Linked DNA regions of Homo sapiens: regions 1 and 3 are each linked to region 2. The links are contacts of gene promoters, found by promoter capture Hi-C in blood cells and fetal thymus (Javierre and others, 2016). All regions are on one chromosome and are shown on one strand. The core of a region is centred on a gene start or on the middle of the fragment in contact, and the rest is flanking DNA. Distances in the headings are between cores, read along the strand shown. Region 1 overlaps CIBAR1-DT (CIBAR1 divergent transcript). Region 2 holds the start of RUNX1T1 (RUNX1 partner transcriptional co-repressor 1). Region 3 overlaps CIBAR1-DT (CIBAR1 divergent transcript).

The links. The method cuts DNA at HindIII sites, captures the fragments that hold promoters and counts their contacts. A CHiCAGO score of 5 or more calls a contact.
Region 1: a contact is called between a fragment that was not itself captured here and the fragment with the promoter of RUNX1T1 in region 2, in 1 of 17 cell types (erythroblasts). The highest score is 7.3, in erythroblasts.
Region 3: a contact is called between a fragment that was not itself captured here and the fragment with the promoter of RUNX1T1 in region 2, in 1 of 17 cell types (M0 macrophages). The highest score is 5.3, in M0 macrophages.

Annotation. Positions count from the first base shown.
Region 1 is chr8:93,589,583-93,592,424 of GRCh38, reverse strand. The region is part of intron 5 of CIBAR1-DT (CIBAR1 divergent transcript); the gene reads left to right. Among named protein-coding and RNA genes, the nearest start is that of CIBAR1-DT, 110 kb to the left of the region's middle. The HindIII fragment of the contact is 2,746 bases long and covers 1-2,634 here.
Region 2 is chr8:92,102,086-92,104,793 of GRCh38, reverse strand. It overlaps RUNX1T1 (RUNX1 partner transcriptional co-repressor 1), which reads left to right and starts at 1,409. Exons shown (of 12, transcript NM_175634.3): 1 at 1,409-1,937. The HindIII fragment of the contact is 6,982 bases long and covers 1-2,708 here.
Region 3 is chr8:93,348,825-93,351,639 of GRCh38, reverse strand. All of the region lies in intron 10 of CIBAR1-DT (CIBAR1 divergent transcript), which reads left to right. Among named protein-coding and RNA genes, the nearest start is that of LINC02906, 180 kb to the right of the region's middle. The HindIII fragment of the contact is 1,329 bases long and covers 719-2,047 here.

The sequences.
Region 1 (2,842 bases), core at 12-2,511, 1.5 Mb before region 2:
ATCAAACCTAAAGAATAGGAAGGCCTTAAAATGCAGGCTGACCCAAAGACATACAATTAGAACAATGGACCCAGGCTGGCGGCCAGCCAAGCGCCTTAAGGCAGGGCTATCCAAAGACTGAGTATGCAGACAGGCTGTGGATGGGTTACAATGTGACAAAATAGTGGCACCCTCAGCCCAAGGGTGGCTGAAGAAGGGCCCAAGCCAGCTGGAGGTGCCTCCCTGGACCAGTTGCCTCTGACTGGTAACAGCTATATCATCAAGGACAATTTTTTTTTTTTTTAAAGAGATGAAAGTTTCATTCTGTTGCCCAGGCTGGAGTGCAGTGGTGCAATCACAGTTCACTGTAACCTTCAATGCCTGGACTTAAGCGATCCTCTCGTCTCAGCCTCCTCAGTAGCTGGGACAACAGGCTCACTTCACCATGCCTGGCTAATTTTAAAAAATTGTATATAGAGACAGGGTCTTGCTGTGTTGCCCAGGCTGGCCTCAAACTCCTGGCCTTAAGCGATCCTCTTGCTTTGGCCTCCCAAAGTGCTGGGATTATAGGAGTGAGCTACAGTGCCTGTGCCAGCAAGGACAAAAATTATTTTTCATGTGTGCCATGATGTGAAAAAGGTTCTGAAGCTATGACTGAAGGATTGAGCACTTTAGGCCTATAACAGGCAGTATTGTCTATAAAGGAGGAAAGTGAGGGGTAAAGTATCATTAAAAAGCTCAAACTATATTCAAGATTTATCATGCACAAGCAGGGACAGCATAGATGAATTCCAGGTTTCCAGAAAGACAACTTCGTTGCCACAGAGTTGCCCAGATAGAGCACACAGTGAATGGTGCCCCCTGAAGTTGTACAATGCAAGAGATCCTGTGTGGGGGTCTAGCTGTCAGGTCAGATGAAGCCTGGAGTTTGAAGGTAAAAATTCTACTCCAGCCAGTGGGTTTGGGGGCTGGGACTTACCTCTTGGGCAGATACTGCCACAGGTTACAACGCAGAAACCCATTCATCTGGGAAACCCATTTATCGGCCAATGCCAGGGTGAACCTGGAAACCAGAATGAAGTCCTACCAATGCCCAGGCTGGTGGCTTAAGGCCTCTTAGGGCAAGAGGGCAAGCCTGGTGTCAGACTGGAGCAGAGACAGATTTCAAAGTAAAGGCTTTCCTGGATTTAGGTTTGAAGAAAGAAGCCAGATGGAAAGCCAAGCCCCACGACAAAACGACCCTCTCTTTAGGGCTCTTGCGGCTGTGCTTGCAGATCAGCCGACCATTCCCTACTCCCACATTTAGGTAGCTTTGCTCCTTGCTGAAGTTCAAGAACATTTGGAGTCTGTTCTGCCACATCAGATTGCAGAATTTTTAAAAAAATTGAGTGGGTTAAGTAACAAGCTCAGATAATCATGCTCAGCCCTCATAGCCGCATTTGAGTCATATATTAATGCAGGGACATTAATCTGCTCTCTTATAAATACAGGATGATTACCCAGATGATGTGTGAAACTCTTTCTAAATTTCTTTTCTTTATTTAGTCCAACATAAGAACTAACATATGGTGCCTTTGCCATGGGTACATGTGGATGAGGTCAGTTATGAAGTAAGCAAAAACTGATTGATACCTGGGTGTGATTTTCAGGATCGATCATTGGGAAAGTACATTAAGGCCTTCTTCTACGACTGGAACAAGGCGTTAGGGGCACAGGGACAAACGAAGTAAAAACCGTAGGCACCAGCCCCAAGGGATAGCAGGGGAAAGGAGGGCTAAGCTGAGGAGTCATTAGAGTAGGTGAGAACTTGGAAACCCATGGAAGTGAGACCCTCCAGTGTGGAGGAGCCTGGCAAGGTCAAGCCTGCATGCTGGAGGAAGGTATGCACCTAAAATACAATAGTTTTTTTTTTTTTATAATGACTTTTTGTTTCTTTTTTTAAAAAGTAGAAACAGGGTCTTGCTATATTGCCCAGGCTGGTCTTGAACTCCTGGCCTCAAGTGACCCTCCTGCCTTGGCCTTCCAAAGTGGTGGGATTACAGGCATGAGCCACCATACCTGCACCTGACCAAAGACAATGGTTTACACCTCTGACTTGGCTTCTGGTTAAGGATTCTTAAAAAAAAAAAAAAAAAGAATGGTTTCATCCAATGTAAGGTAAGTGATTGTGGAAAGAGGCAATTTTGGGTTCCATTCTTTTTTTTTTTTTTTTTTTTGAGATGGAGTTTCACTCTGTTGCCCAGGCTGGAGTGCAGTGGCATATTCTCAGCTCACTGCAGCGTCTGCCTTCCGGGTTCGAACTATTCTCCTGCTTCACCCTTCCCAGTAGCTAGGACTACAGGAGAGCACTACCATACCTAGCTAATTTTTGTATTTTTAGTAGAGACGGGGTTTTACCGTGTTGACCAGGCTGGTCTTGAACTTCTTACCTCAGGTGATCCGCCTGCCTCAACCTCTCAAAGTGCTGGGTTTACAGGCGTGGAGCCACCATGCCCAGCCTGGGCTTCATTCTTTTAAAAAACAAACCAAAAAAATAGCAACAGTAAAAAGAAGGCAAATCTTTGGTTAACTGAGCTGTGATATGATTTGAGAAAGAAAGAATGATAGATCTAAGATCCATGCTAAGAATTTGTAATATTTCTTATCTTTTAAGCTTCCTGCATTTTATTTTTTAAGCTTTTTTTCTCCACAGTGATTATCAATATGCTTTGGGGAGAGAAACACATTTCAGGAGATTGGGGGCTGGTGGCTTGTTGCTAACAGGAATTCTAATAATAAGTGTTCGGCTGTTGGCTGTGCTGGACTTCCCTCTGTCACTCCAAAGCTCTGCCTCCCACCTTTGTATGTTGTTGACAATTTGTGG
Region 2 (2,708 bases), core at 160-2,659:
GATTATTCATGCTATTAAGATTTGCGACTATAGCAAAATATAAAGAACTGTAATACAGAAATTATTATAGAATGTACACCTTGATAAAATGAGATTCAAATTAAGAGCATCATAATATCAAATACCAAGACTTAACATTGCAATTCATTAATCTATTATAATTCATTAGACAAATGTCCCAAGGAGAGGGGAGAATGTACAATGAGTGTTTTCTGGAAATGAATTGCTAAAAATTAGTAGAGTCTGAAAAGACTTCAGAATTGGAAGCTCCAGCTGGGTTTAAAAGGATGGGGGAAGGGATTTTACTCACTATTAAATATTTGAAACACCACTTCAGAAAATAAAACCCACAAATGTCTCATCAGTTCTCAACTGCATCAGACCGACTCAGACTCTATCTGATGCCTTTTTTCCTTTGTAAAAATGAGATTTTAAAACACGTATTCAGGACATCTTACATTGATTTAGGCTAGTTGGAGAAAACATGGTTCAGAGTAGGATTTCAAATAGTTCCACTAAATACAATAACATTTGCAGTCAGGGTACCGTTCCATAGTAATTTTAAAAGATTTCATTTTACTTATCATTGCAAGCCATTATCTGATCATATTTGACCTACATATTAATATTTTCATTATTATTCAAGCCCTTTTTGGCTCTGTACAAATTGTCAGTCCTCTTCACCGAGATTATTTATTTACTCTGGAAATATCTGGAATTCTTTCACCCTATCTTTTCCTCCGGGACTACCCCCCACACTGCCCCCAAGTATTGATATTAATGTCTGGGGGAGGGGGACACATCTAACAAAAACCTGAGATAGAAAGCCGTCCCTCTTAATGGTATACTATGGGAGAAGTAGAAAAACAAAGAGAATAAAAGAAAATGATAATTGTTTTCTCTAAGGCTATTATCTAATGCGAAAGCAAATAGTCAGTCTGGAAATCAGCTAACAGAAGGGGATTAGAGAGGAGATCTGAGAGTGGCTTGATTTCTAGCAGAGCTGTCTCTTCAGCCAGTGATGAGACACAGGCAGGGCAGCCGGGAGCGCTCCAGATGGCCGGGGAAAGTGGTCGTCTTGGGTTACTGCAGGGCACTCGGGCCGCCTGAGAGCTGGCGGCCCGGGAAGGCATCATTAGGGAGCCAACCCCACGTCCAGCCTGCATGGGAGAGGGCGAGGCCGGGAGGGAGGCCGCCCGCCAGCCCGCGCGCCCTAGCGTGCCGGGCCTGCCCATTGTTAACATATACTTGACCTCCGTGACCCCCGCACAACACAGATGTCTCCCACCTCCACCTCCCCCACGCCCCGCCGCGGGTCCTCCCCCCTGCACCTGGTAGCGGCCGCGCAGCCGCCTCCCTCCCGACCGGCCGCGGCGCCCCTGGCGCGAGCGTGCGCCGGAGCCGGCCTGATGCGGGCGCTCTCGGCGCACAGCGCGCGGCGCTCCTGCTCCCCGGCGGACGCCCGGCCGCCCTGCAGATAAATGCGTCGCCTTCCTCGAGAGTGAGCGAGGGCGGGCGAGGGAGACGCAGACGCCGCCTGTGACAGTGGCAATTCCCTGCGCCCCACATCACATTTGTCTGCCACAGCAGCAACAACAGAAAAGCGGAGGGAGGGAGGGAGGCGGGAGGAGGGGAGCAGAGCTCCGCAAGTCTTGGGCTCTGCGTGGAGGTTGCGTTTGGCTGGCGTCCCCGACCCCGGGCTTTTTGCACGGCAGCTCTCTCTGCGCAGCGCCGGGCGGCCGTAGTCGCTCCGCGGCGCGACTCCGCGGTCTCGTGGCGAGCGCGCGTGGGCGAGTGGCCGCGGACACTCTGGCCTCGCGAGGGAAGCCGCGCCGCGTCCTCGCCCCGTCGCCCCGCGGGCCGGCCGAGACGACGGGAAGTTTTATTTGCAGCTCGGAGCCTGTGGCGGATGGTGGGACTCTCCGGCCCTGTGCAGTGTAAGTGTCCGCGGTAGGGCTTGGCCGGCGGGCGGGCGGCGGGGTCGGGCCCCTGACTGTTATTAATTACTGTTCCGATGACCGTCATCTTCGTTTGGATTATTCGACCGCGAGGCTCCAGGCTGTACTTGTCGCTCAATTAGGGTAGGACTACGCACCAGGGCAAAGAGGAACATCGCGGGTGACTCCGGTCTGCGATGACACTGAACTTCGCGGGTCAGCCGAGGATGCAGTTTTTACTATTATATTCCCCACAGTGTCTTTTAAAAATAATTTTTCTTCCCTCTCCATAGTCACGGTATGCGAGCAGGAAGATGACGAGTGGGTTTCTCCCCCGACAAAACAACCGATCGAGGTGCCCACAGTGCATTTGGCAGGTGGCCCTATGCCCGCATCGTGGGTTTTTTTCTTTTCCTTTCTTTTTTTTTTTTTTCTTTTCTTTTTCTGTAAACTGGAAGCAAAGACTTGTTTTGATGGTGGAAAACTTAGCCCTAAGGAGTAAAGAGGCGGGATCTTAACTTTGGGACCCGGCTGCAACTAGGGTGGGGGTTTGCTTAGAGGTACCCAGGCGCTCTGCGCCTGCCTGCGAACTTTCCTTGTTACTCCTGGCCGTTTGGGGTGCTGGACTGGGAAGCTCCTGGGTGAGCGGGCGGACGGCGGCTCCCGCCCGAGGCTGGTCCCGGGCTTCGCAGTCAGGGGCCGATGGGGAGAGTCGTCCCCGCCCGACCTCTGCGCGCTCTGGACTCAGCCGCCCCGGCCCTCCTGGGTGTT
Region 3 (2,815 bases), core at 134-2,633, 1.2 Mb before region 2:
GATTATAACCAGAGAAGCCAAGTCAGTGTGTGGTTGGGCCCAATACAAATTGTTGACCCATAGAACTATGAGGAAATAAGTGTTTAAGCCACTAATTTTTGATGTAGTTTGTTGGGCAGCAAAAGCTAACTAAAACAGAAATTGGTACTTAGAAGGGGGATGCTGCTATAACAGAAACCTAAAACATGTGGCACTGGTTTTGGAGCAAAACAATTGGAAAAATATTGCATGTGGTCACTTGGAAGATAGAACATTTATCTAATAAACTTGTGGATCTAGTTAAGAAAATTTCCAGGCATATTGTTAATAATGTATAGGCCGAAGGAGATGAACTAAATAAAGAACTGTTTCATTTGCAAACAGAAAGTAGAAACAAGATAGAGGGCTCAGGACCTTCTAAATTAGAAAATAAACTTGTTTTTCATTTCAGTCTCTCCAGTTTGCAAAAGATTCTTCTAAAATCTAATTAAGGGAGTGACTTTAAGACTCTTGCAAAGACCTCAGAAGGATTTGTGGTTGTTCCTAGTATATTATATCAACTCAACAAAATAACTTCTAAAGATCTTGAGGGCATTAACTCACAACATTGTGATATACTGCCTGAAGAAGAAAGAATGCTGCATTAAAAAGAATTGTGTGTGTTTCCTTTGTCTATTGAAATGGATGACTCCCTGATACATAGAAAACCCACAAGGTATTAAAGGGGGCTATATAAGCTTGCATTAAGAGACTAAGACAGAATTTCTTAGGGCAGGAGTTAGGATGAGGAAAGCTATTCATCTGTAAACAAGGGCTATTTCTGATGGTCATATGCACATGACTGTATTCCTGAATTGCTGTGGACCTATGGCTCCTATGTGCTCCCCATTTCTCCTTTTTGAATGGGGTGTCTATTATGATTATCCTCTTGCCATCTCACCATTGTATGTTGGGTATGGGAGAGGATGGAGACAAACTTGTCTGTTTGGTTCATAGATTTCTGGATTAAGAGGAGCCACATGCAAGGAGCTGTAATAGAAGGTCCTCATCCACACCTGGACCAAATGCACTTCCTGAGATCCTGGACTTTCAGTTTGATGATACAATTGGATGAGACTTTTGGGCGGTCTTGGGATGGGGTGAATTCACCTGGCATATGGGAGAAATAGAAATAATTATAGCTAATGGGTGACCGTAGTAGATTAAATATGACCACATATTCTTTACAGCTTGACCCATTAAAAGGCGGGTGTAGGTTTCTCCATTTTTTGAATTATAGCTGCCTCATGACTTGGTTTGACCAACAGAATGTGGCAGAAGTGATGATACTCAAGCTGTGAACCTAAGCCACTAGAGGCCTTGCAGCCTCTGCCCTTGTCCACTCTGTGAATAAGCCAGCCCACTTCTTCCAATGAGGAGAAAGATCCAGCCACCCCAGACTTGCTAGCTGTCCCAGCTGAGGCACCAGATATAGGAGTGAGCTCAGTAGACACTATGTAGGGTAAGGATGAGATGTCTAAGCTGAGCCCAACCCAAACTGCCAACCACAGAATCATAATTGAATACATGATTATTTTAAGCCATAAAGTTTTGGGTGGTTTTGTTACCTAGCAAAATCTAGTTAAGACTCACCTACATTTTGCACATCTTTCACATATAGGTCTTCTATCTCTCTACTGACATTGTAAAAACCTTGAGGGAGGCGACCGAATTTTATAATTTTTGTGACTTCTGCAACACTTAGTACAGGACTGGGTACAGAACATTGCTTTATGAATGCTTTTGGTGTGCCTAAGGTTCTCCTTCCGCTGTTTGAAAATACAGAGTTTGAAAAGTAAAAGAATGTCAGAAGAAAAAGTTTAGGTTAGCTTGGGCTTATCATAGTATCTTGTTTACCCTCACCCTTCCCTGAATTTTTTTTTTAACTAGGAAAGAAGTTTGGTCTTCAGGATCAGAGATAACCAGATTTAAATATTTTTTTCTCTGTTAAACTCTCAGTGGGTGGTAAATAAGTGCCCATTGCCCAGGCTCAGTGGCTCATGCCTGTAATCCCAGCATTTGGGAAGCTTAGGCAGGCAGATCACTTGAGGCCAGGAGTTTGAGACCAGCCTGGCCAATCTGGTGAAACCTTGTCTTTACTAAAAATACAAAAAAATTAGCTGGGCATGGTGGCTCATGCCTGTAATCCCAGCTACCCAGGAGGCTGAGGCATGAATCGTTTGAACCCGGGAGGTGGAGGTTTCAGTGAACCGAGATTGCACCACTGCACTCCAGCATGGGCAACAGAGTGAGACTCCATCTCGGAAAAAAAAAAAAAAGGCCTATTACTTAAAAAAGTAAAAATTATTAATAATACATTATTGTTATATAAACATAATAGTAGTAATAATAGATAAAGTGAGAGCCAAAAGTTTTTTGAAGAGGGGAGTATTGGCTCCAATTCTGAATCTTTTAGCCAGTGCCGATGTCCATCACTGGATCTAATAACCAAATAACTAAAATAACCAGGTAAGTCAAAAGCACGCCAGTGAGAGAACAATGGCCTAGAATCATCTTGCTTCCTTCCTGATCTGATTCTGCTCTGCTCCTATTTTCTCCCAGATCCTGATCTCTGGTTTCATTTCCCATTTGCAACTGACTCCCTCCCTTTGAACTTGGCATTGCTACTAAGTTTTCCTGGCTTGGACCATTAGTAATCTGTACAAATACTGGCTTAGACTCACGTTTTGGGTCTTTCAGTCAGAGTTGCCTTAGATGGGATAACCTGCCCTAATTCAGCTCCTCAAAGACTGACCATCTATCCCAGATTTCTCCCAGTGAAGAGGAGTTCAGACTG